Regions from separate parts of the Homo sapiens genome. Here region 2 is linked to region 1. Evidence: promoter capture Hi-C in 16 types of primary human blood cells and fetal thymus (Javierre and others, 2016). All regions are on one chromosome and are shown on one strand. Each heading gives the region's core, a stretch centred on a gene start or on the middle of the fragment in contact. The rest is flanking DNA. Distances are from core to core; before and after follow the strand shown.

The links. Contacts are between HindIII fragments. The CHiCAGO score rates a contact against its expected background, and 5 or more counts as called.
Region 2: a fragment that was not itself captured here is called in contact with the fragment with the promoter of MKRN2 in region 1 in 1 of 17 cell types (total CD8 T cells); the score reaches 5.0 in total CD8 T cells.

What each region holds. Positions count from the first base shown.
Region 1 is chr3:12,552,820-12,559,177 of GRCh38, forward strand. MKRN2 (makorin ring finger protein 2) reads left to right here and starts at 4,268. Exons shown (of 8, transcript NM_014160.5): 1 at 4,268-4,357. The coding sequence starts at 4,332. It also overlaps a transcript of MKRN2OS not described here. RefSeq lists enhancers at 3,888-3,997, 4,048-4,107, 4,495-5,018, 4,928-4,987 and a silencer at 4,278-4,367. The HindIII fragment of the contact is 4,764 bases long and covers 1,139-5,902 here.
Region 2 is chr3:14,943,539-14,946,494 of GRCh38, forward strand. It overlaps FGD5-AS1 (FGD5 antisense RNA 1), which reads right to left. Exons shown (of 2, transcript NR_046251.1): 2 at 1-2,616. Among named protein-coding and RNA genes, the nearest start is that of NR2C2, 2.6 kb to the right of the region's middle. The HindIII fragment of the contact is 2,041 bases long and covers 231-2,271 here.

The DNA.
Region 1 (6,358 bases), core at 3,018-5,517:
TGAAACCAGCCTGGGCAACATAGTGAGATCTCCTGTCTACAAAAAATACAAAAATTGGCCAGGAGTGGTGGAGCATGCCTGGCGCACACCTGTAGCCCCAGCTACTTGAGGGGCTGAAACCAGGAGGTGGAGGTTGCAGTGAGCCAAGATCACACCACGGCACTCCAGCCTGGGTGACAAAGTGAGACCCGGTCTCCAAAAAAAAAAAAAAAAAAAAAATCTTCCTGCACAGTAAACTGCAGGCTGAGATGGCTTCCATGGTAAATTCTTCCAGATGTTTAAGGGAAAAATTAATACCCATATTACACAGACTTTTCCAGAGGATAGAAAAGAAAGACTTCCAAACTCATTTTATGAGACCAGCATATCCCAGATACCAGCACCTGGCATGGACATTATAAGAAAGGAACACTACAGACTAATATCTCTCATACACAAGGATGCAAAAATTCTAAACACAATTTTAACAAATAGATGATTTATAGAAAATATATCATGGCCATGTGGGGTTTATCCTGAGCAATTGGGTAGGGTTAACATTAAAAATCAATCAGTATAATTCAATACATTACCAGTATAAAAGGGAAAAACAATATAGGTTTCTCAATACATGCAAAAAAAAAAGTGATAAAAGTCAAGATGTGTTCATGGTAAAAATGCTAATAAAACTAGAAAGAAACTTTCTTAATTTGGCAATGGATAGCCTAAAAAAATCTAGGGCTAACATTTTAATTAAAATATTAAATAATTTTAAAGTAAAATATTAAATATTTTTATTGAATCCAGGAACAAAATAAGATGTACACTATTACTACTTCTCTTTAACATTGTTCTGAAGGCTGTAGACAGTGCATGCAATAAGGCAAGGAAAAGAAATAAAAGATACAAAGATGAAAAGGAAGCAAAACTGTCATTATTTGCTGATGGCGTGATTGTGTATAGAAAATCGATAACTAACTACAAATAAACCATTAGAATTAATTCAAAATTTAGCATGGAGCTGAATCCCAAGTCAGTATACAAAGATCCAGTGTATTTCTATATATAAGCAACAAGCAATTCGGAAATTTTAGGAATATCATTTAAAATAGCATCGAAAACCGCTTCTAGGGGCAGGTCGGCACACAAAGAAAACGAAAGCTTTGCAAGACCCTCGGCGCACGTCTGCGCAAAGGGTCTCTGTGTCTCTACGCCCAGATGGCCATTTTGAGTCCCGAGCTGGCAGCCACCCTTCTCTTCTGTTTTCTCAGCTTCTTCACCCGCTTCTATCTGATAGCCTTTTTCTCCCGAGTGTTTGGTAGCAAAGTTGCTTTTCCTAAGGGGCGAGAACGGGAGCTGGTGGTTAGCAAGCAGACGCAGTTTTACGCGCCCCTGCTACGGGCAGGAGCGAGTGGCCCTGCCTTCTCTGCCAGCGCGGGTTCCCTGGGGGTGAGGAAAGTGAGTTCCACGTCCCGGGTGGGGCAGGACTTGGTGTTTAGTGCCCAGCGCCAGATAACGCCGGAAGAACCCCAAGTGGAGACTGCTTGCATCCTTCGGGAAAAGTCTAAGTGCTAAGTACCATGACAGTGGCAGGAACCAAGCTGTTGGGTACAGCTTGTGGAAGTGCACACTGGCTGTCGTTGATCCAGTGTTGTATTATTTTTTCATAAATATATATGAAATATATGAAATATATATGAAATATAAAAATATATATATATATTGCCCATGACACAGACCTCAGGAGATCCTGAGAACATGTGCCCGATCCAGTGTTTTATTTGCACAGACACCCTAAAGGGCACCAGCAGTACAAGGCTGATGAAATAACTTATGGCATAGTCGTACAACGGAATACTATACAGTTCTACGAAAGGAGGAAGAGGCTCTATGTACTGATATGGAAAAATCTCCACTGATTATGTACGCTGTGCAGAACAGTACGTTATGTTATCTTTTCTACAAAAAGGAGAAAATAATATATATGTATTTACTTGTGTATATTTAAAGAAATTCTGGAAAGATGTATACAAATTTGATAACAGTGGCCAGGTTTTGAGGTTTTAAAAAATGTTTCTGCTTTTTGTTTTGAAGAGGCGGGAACTAAATTGACAGGAGACTGAGACTTTTCACTTTACGCTTTTAAAATATTTGAACATAATAACGTTCAGATCGTGAATGTATTCCATAAAGAATGAGATAAGCTGAATTTTAAAAATAAGTGGCATGGGCTGGGCGCGGTGGCTCTCGCCCGTAATCCCAGCACTTTGGGAGGCCGAGGCGGGTGGATTGCCTGAGCTCAGAAGTTCGAGACCAGCCTGGGCAACAGGGTGAAACCCCGTCGCTACTAAAACACAAAAAATCAGCTGGGCGTGGCAGCGTGCGCCTGTATAATCCCAGCTACTCCGGAGGCTGAGACAGGAGAATCGCTTGAACACGGGAGGTGGAGGTTGCAGTGAGCCAAGAGCATGCCACTGCACTCCAGCCTGGGTGACAGAGCAAGACTCCGTCTCAAAAAAAAAAAAAAAAAAGACGTGTAATTTTTATGAGCATGAATTGCATGGATCAAATGTGTTATGAGTTAAAATGCAATATTCAAGACACTGAAAACAAAATTTCCAGTATACTTCCAAATTCCTGAGAAAAATTTCAAAAGTTCTAAATAATTGGAAGTATATACCATGCTCATTCATTGGAAGACTCAATATTTTTATAGCAAAGTAAAAAAAGAACATACAGCTATACATACATAACATGGAAAGATCTCACAGATAAAATGTTGGTCAAAAGAAGGCAGACAAAAGCGTAGGTACTGAATTATTATTTATATGAAAGTCAAGAACAGTTAAACTAATTTATAGTGATAGAGATGAACCCAAGCAATGACCTTTGTAAAGTATTGCCTGGGAAGGACCATAAGGAAGCCCTTCTGGGGTGTCGATAATATCCAGCCCCCACCCACCCCCTGCAGCCTCGACTGCAGTGAACTATGCTCAAAGGATCCTTCCGGCTCAACCTCTCCTTACTCCAGCATTTTGAAGTTTAGTCGAGCATGGTGTCGCGCACCTGTATTCCCAGCTGCTGGGGAGGTTAAGGCAGAGGACTGCTTGAACTATGATGGCGCCACTGCACTCCAGCCTGGGCGACAGAGCAAGACCCTGCCTCAAAACAAAACAAAAAATTCTTTATTTTGATCTGGGTGGTAGTTTCATGAGTGTATGCATGTGCAAAAATTCATAGAATGTGTTTGGTGCACTTATATTGTGCATGTTATGTATCTCGAGTTTTTAAGCAATGAGAAACCATTGTAAGATTAAAAGGTGAATGACATGATCCGATTTATGTTTTAAAAATAGATTTTTACCAGGAACGGAAGCCAGAAGACCAGTTAAAAGGCTATCGCATGGCTGGCCAGGCGTGCACGCCTGTAATTCCAGCTACGTGGAAGGCTGAGAGGCAGGAGAATCGCTTGAACCCGGGAGGCGGAGGTTGCAGTGAGCCGAGATCGCCCCACTGCACTCCAGCCTGGGCAACAAGAGAGAAACTCCGTCTCAAAAAAATAAAAAATAAAATAATAATAATTAAAAAAAAAGGTATCGCATGGTGCTAGGTAGAAGGGACGGTGGAAAGGGGGCAGAAGAGGACGCATTGGACAGAGGTGTGGGAGCAGAATCTGCAGGGTATAGAGAGCTAGAGGGAAGTGTCAAAAATAACTTTTGGGGTTTCCACCATAGGAAATGGAAGACGAGCAGCACAAGACTGGCAGGAAAGAAAATGAAGACTAAAACTTGTGGAAGTAGAGATTTGGGGAAAGAGCAGTTGGGAGAGAGCTAAGGAATTTCCTTAAGTGGGAGGCGAGGTCCGGCGGGAACAGTTGAGGCAGGGCCTGAGAAGGGTGCCCAGTGAGTGCGAGTATGAATGGATAGGGGCATCCGGGATTAAGAGGAGAGGCTGGAGTTTCCCCAGGAGTGGTGAAGTGCCTCGAAGGAGGCGGGAGATCCCTAAGGAATACTCTTGGCGATCGGGGCAGAATCGCAGGCACTAACAGTAGGCATCGGGATAAGACTGGCAGGACTAAGATGCCAGCCAGGCTCCGCCCCGGAGGCTTGGAAGTGCGGGACACCGAGAGCAGGGATGCCGGGACAGCCGGCCCGATCCCCGGTGCGGAACCAATTGTGACGACGGCTAGGTTACCCGCCGGCGCTACAAAGGTGCCACACCGGAGGGGCGGCGTGCGCCGGCGTGCGCCGGCGTGACGCGGCTACGCGGGATGGGCCGGGCCAGGGCCAAGGCCGAGGCGGCAGCGGCTGCGAGAGGCGGCGGCACGACGACGGTCCCTCAGCCCAGCCACCATGAGCACCAAGCAGATCACTTGCAGGTCAGTGCGCTGGAGCCAGGAGCTTCGGGCCGCTCCCCCAGGCCGCAGGGGGGCCGGTGCGCGCCAGTGCTGTGGTCCGGGAACCTGAGGCTAGAGCGGGACTCGGAAAGTTACTCGGCTGTTCGCGGCGGGGCTTTGCGAGGCAGAGCGAGCGCTGCCGCCACAGCCGGGGATCCGGGGGATGCGTGGCCGAGACGCTGGGCGAGGCCAGCGCGGGGGGCTACGCCCCGAGTTTGAAGCGTGGCCCCTGTGGGCTGGGAGGAAGGACGTCCTAGCCAGGGCCGTGCAGGATGCCGGGGCGCTGTCGGGAAGGCTCTGGGGCTTACGCTTTAACTGGAAAAGATTTGAAGTTGAGTAAAGGGACGCCGAGAGGACGGTTACAAATGGGGATACCACATAGGAGTAATTTGTTAATCGATTATGAGGGCCTCAAAGTTTGGAGAATCCAGATGCAATCTAAACTTGCAGAGAGTTAACAAGTAAAAGTTGTTGTGTGGAAAATAACGACAGGTAGCATATTGTGAATATCGGCGAAGCGCCCTGCATATTTCCAAGTCCTTTATATTCATTATCATCAGACTTCACAGTAAGACAACTTAGTAGTTATTATTACCATTTTACAGTGCAGGAAACTGAGACCGAAAGACGTTGACACTCATTTATCTTACTGAGAGAGCCATTTACGAGGAGAAATGCGACGGTAATGGATGGTTTATTGTAGAAAATAGCCAGATAGCTACACTACGACTGCTCCTATGAAATAGAATAGTGTGGTTGTGTAACACCCTCATTGCTTGGTCAGCTTGTGGCTTACTGGTAATGGAGTCTAGTCCTATTGAATTGTATGTTTGGAAAACGCAAATTGAATTGTATGCTTGGAAAATGCAAATTTCATTTAATAATTTTTATGGGAAACATTGCTTAAAAACAGTTATAGAGTTTGTGTAATAAACAGTTTATTTTCTATGTTGTTACTTCTCTTCATTGGTATGAATAGTTGAGACGTGACTGTGTAGTAAGTTTTCTGTTAGCATTAGTGTACATTTACTGTTCAATTTATCCAAGGCCCAGGTGGCTTATGTTAAGCTGTTGTCAGAAATTTGCACCTAGTGTCTATAAAAAGACTTTTACTAGGTTATTTGTACTAGAAGGTGTTTTGTGAAGACGGGTTTGTGTGTGTTTACGTATTTTTATTTGTATAAAGTTTCTCCTGCTGGAGGAAGTATTCCTAGGTCATTGTGCACTGTAAAGCAGCTTGTAGCCTCCTAGAAAAACCTCTGTATTCCTCCCCTCGCTCTATGGTTTAATTCTACCATTTATTCCCGTACCTCATCTAAGAAGTGTCCACAAAACAGTACACATTTATGTAATAATGCTTTATAATTGAATCTCAACTCTGTAGTATCTTATTTTACAAATAAGGAATCTTATGCTCAGAAAGACTTGAAATTTGCCTAAAATTTTACACCTTAGTAGAGGCACAAGGACCTAAATCAGGATCATCTTGGTTTTTTCCTTGTATACCTGGAGATAGCTTGACTTGAAAGCTTTAATTCTGTTTCCCAAACAGGGGTGTTCTGTAGGATGTTGCTCCATATAAATGAAGATTGGGTTGGAATGTTGAGAAGGGATCACTTCTGTTTAAGTGTTTAGTCATGTTTGTTGGGGACTTACAATGTGCTGCGGCTCTTAGGTACTGTAGTGTATAATCCAGCAACCAGCGCTCTTCCACAGATCGTAAAACTGAGCCTCAGCATTGAAGCGACTTGCCTAAGGTCATTTAGCTTCCAAGTGACAGAGGTGTGAAATCAAAGTTCATGCCCTCATAGACTGTAGGGCCTCCAGATAAGTTTTGAAATGCTAAATTAAAATTTATTTATTGCAGGACTTATCAAAGCTTTTAATGTGTTCCCATGAAAGGAAACTCATACAAGGATATGTAAAACTGCAAAGAAGTTTACTCACAAAAGGGTGTAAAGGAGTCAGGGCTCCCGATGACTG
Region 2 (2,956 bases), core at 1-2,500, 2.4 Mb after region 1:
CACACACACAAGGGCTGGGTACTGCCAGATCTGTATCACTCCGGAGCAACGACCTGTCTCTCTGAATGATCTCTGGCATGGTAAAAGAGTTAACTGTATTTCAAAAGGTGAAACAAAACTTTTTTTGCTTTGTTATGCATGTTTCAAATTGATCAGTGGTTCAGGCCTGGAGTATGCATCAGAATTATCTGTGAAGCTTAGTGAAAGTGCTGATGCCAGAGCCCACCCAAAGCTTACTGCTTCAGAACCACTGGGGACCTGGCAGTTCTGATGTGCACGACTAGTCAAGAATCCTTTAAAGGCTGATAAAGCAATCTTGAAATCACTGTCAATGCAAAAGTGGATGTTCCTCATTAATAAGAACTCAAAAAATAAAGTACAGCTAGTATAAGACTTGTTTTTTGTGCCTATAAAACCCAAGTGTTAGCTACTTTCTAACTATAAAATTCTATCCAAAAAGACTTGCAGTCAAAACACCGAGCCAAAAAACAAAAAAGGCACCAAAGCAGTGCCGACTTCAATGTGCAAAGGCCTTTTACGTGCTGATATTGTAAGCAATCTGTGTGCATGTGTACATATGCATCTGTTTTCAGGGAAAGAAAAGCTGTTAAAGCCAATTAAGGTTATGAATTCTTGCTACTACTTTAATATTAAACCTTTAAGTGAAAATTTATTGAACACTATTACAAATGTGGCAAACTGACATAGCTGGTTTACTGCACAAACTTTAATGTCAAAGGGATTAGATCAGAGCTCCAGTCTCACTTACTGGGCCTATAACATTGTGCAGGGCACTTATCTCACCTCAGGAAAATGGAAGTAACTGCTTCATTTTACAGAGGTATTAAATGAAAGAAATGAGAAAACTATAAACCAACATTGAAGCCTGAATTATTGCTTAGTATTTAAAGTCTAGTACAATTGCAATGTTTTTAATAAAAAAACTCATTGATAGGTGTATTTTTACAGTGTATCTAAAAGCAGCATTTAACATTAAAAACTTAGTATTTAAAAGAGTACACAACCAGGCAGGGTGTGGTGGCTCACGCCTGTAATCCTAACACTTTGGGAGGCCAAGATGGGAGGATCACTTGAGGCCAGGAGTTCGAGACCAGCCTGGTCAACACAGCGAGACCCCAACTTTTTTTTTTTTTGAGACAGTTTCGCTCATCGCCCAGGCTGGAGTGCAATGGTGTGATCTCGGCTCACTGCAACCTCTGCCTCCCGAGTTCAAATGATTCTCCTGTCGCAGCCTCATGAAGTAGCTGGAATTAGATGCCCGCCACCCCGCCTAGCTAATTTTTTTGTATTTTTAGTAGAGATGGGGTTTTACCATGTTAGTCAGGCTGGTCTTGAACTCCTGACCTCAGGTGATCCACCCACCTCACCTTCCCAAAATGCTGGGATTACAGGCATGAGCCACCATGCCCGGCCAATGCCATCTATTAAAAAAACAAAGAAAAAGAGTACACAACCACAAAGCACTGGGCCAAATGCATTGTTTCCATGTTTGCAAGGATTTACCATAGAAATATTAGGTTGATGCAAAAATTAAATTTCCAGACTGCGAATTTTAAATCATTGTAACTACGCTAAAACATATTCTATTAATCAAAACAGGAACCATTACAATCAACACATTTTTGCCAATGAGAAATGTTTGTTTATTCCTGTAGCATAAAAATCCGTGCTTCAGGATTTGACGAACTCTTGGAAAGCATTTTCTGCACCATGCTGAAGTGTTTTCCCTGCAAAAAGTTGTCAAGATGCTAGCAGAAGTGGTAGTCAGTTGGCGAAAGGTCAGGTGAATATGGTGGATGAGGCAAAACTTTGTAGCCCAATTCCTTCAACTTTTGAAGCACTGGTTGTGCGACACGCAGTCAGGTGTTGTCGTGGAGAAGAATTGGGCCCTTTCTGTTGACCAATGCAGGCAGCAGGTATTGCAGTTTTCGGTGCATCTTACCAATTTGCTGAGCATACTTCTCAGATGTAATGGTTTCACCAGGATTCAGAAAACTGTAGTGGATCAGATGGGCAGCAGACCACCGAACAGTGACCATGACCTTTTTTTTGGTGCAAGTTTGGCTTTGGGAACTGCTTTGGAGCTGCCTCTTGGTCCAACCACTGAGCTGGTTGTTGTATAAAATTCACTTTTCATTACATGTCACAATCCGATTGAGAAATGGTTTGTTGTTGCGTAGCATAAAAGAAGACTACACTTCAAAACGATAGTTTTGATTTCCGCTCAGCTCATGAGGCACCCACTTATCAAGCTTTTTCACCTTTCCAATTTGCTTCGAATGCTGAACGACCCTAATGACCGTAGAATAGTCAACGCTGAGTTCTTCTGTAATTTTTCATGTAGTTCAATGATTGCTCTCAATTGGTCGTTGTCAACTTCCCATGGCCCATATCACGTTCCTCATCTTCAAGGCTCTCTTCCTTGCAAAACTTCTTAAGCCACCACTGCACTGTATGTTTGTTAGCAGTTCCTGGGCCAAATGTGTTACTGATGTTTTGAGTTGTCTTCGCTGCTTTATGAACCATTTTGAACTCGAATAAGAAAACTGCTCCAAATTTGCTTTTTATCTAACATCATTAGACAAAAAGCATATTCTAAAATAAACAGCAATAAGTCATTAGCAAAAAAATAAAGTGAGAAATGTGCATTAAAATGATCCACATTTATTTAAGAATGTATTCCAATATCAAACAGCAAATTTCAAAAATGCAAAAACGCAATTGCTTTTGCCTCTCAGGTACATCACTTGACCTTTCTAGTTCTCACCCACTTCACCCCTAAAATCGGAAAATCTTTCTGCAAGAAAAAAATTTGACCACATTCCCTTAAGGCCTCTTCCAATTTCAAGAGCTGTGCTTTACCATGACAAAACGAACCTAGCTCTTTTCCCAATTTTGCAACGTCAGAAAAAGGAGGAAGGGGAAATAGCTGTGT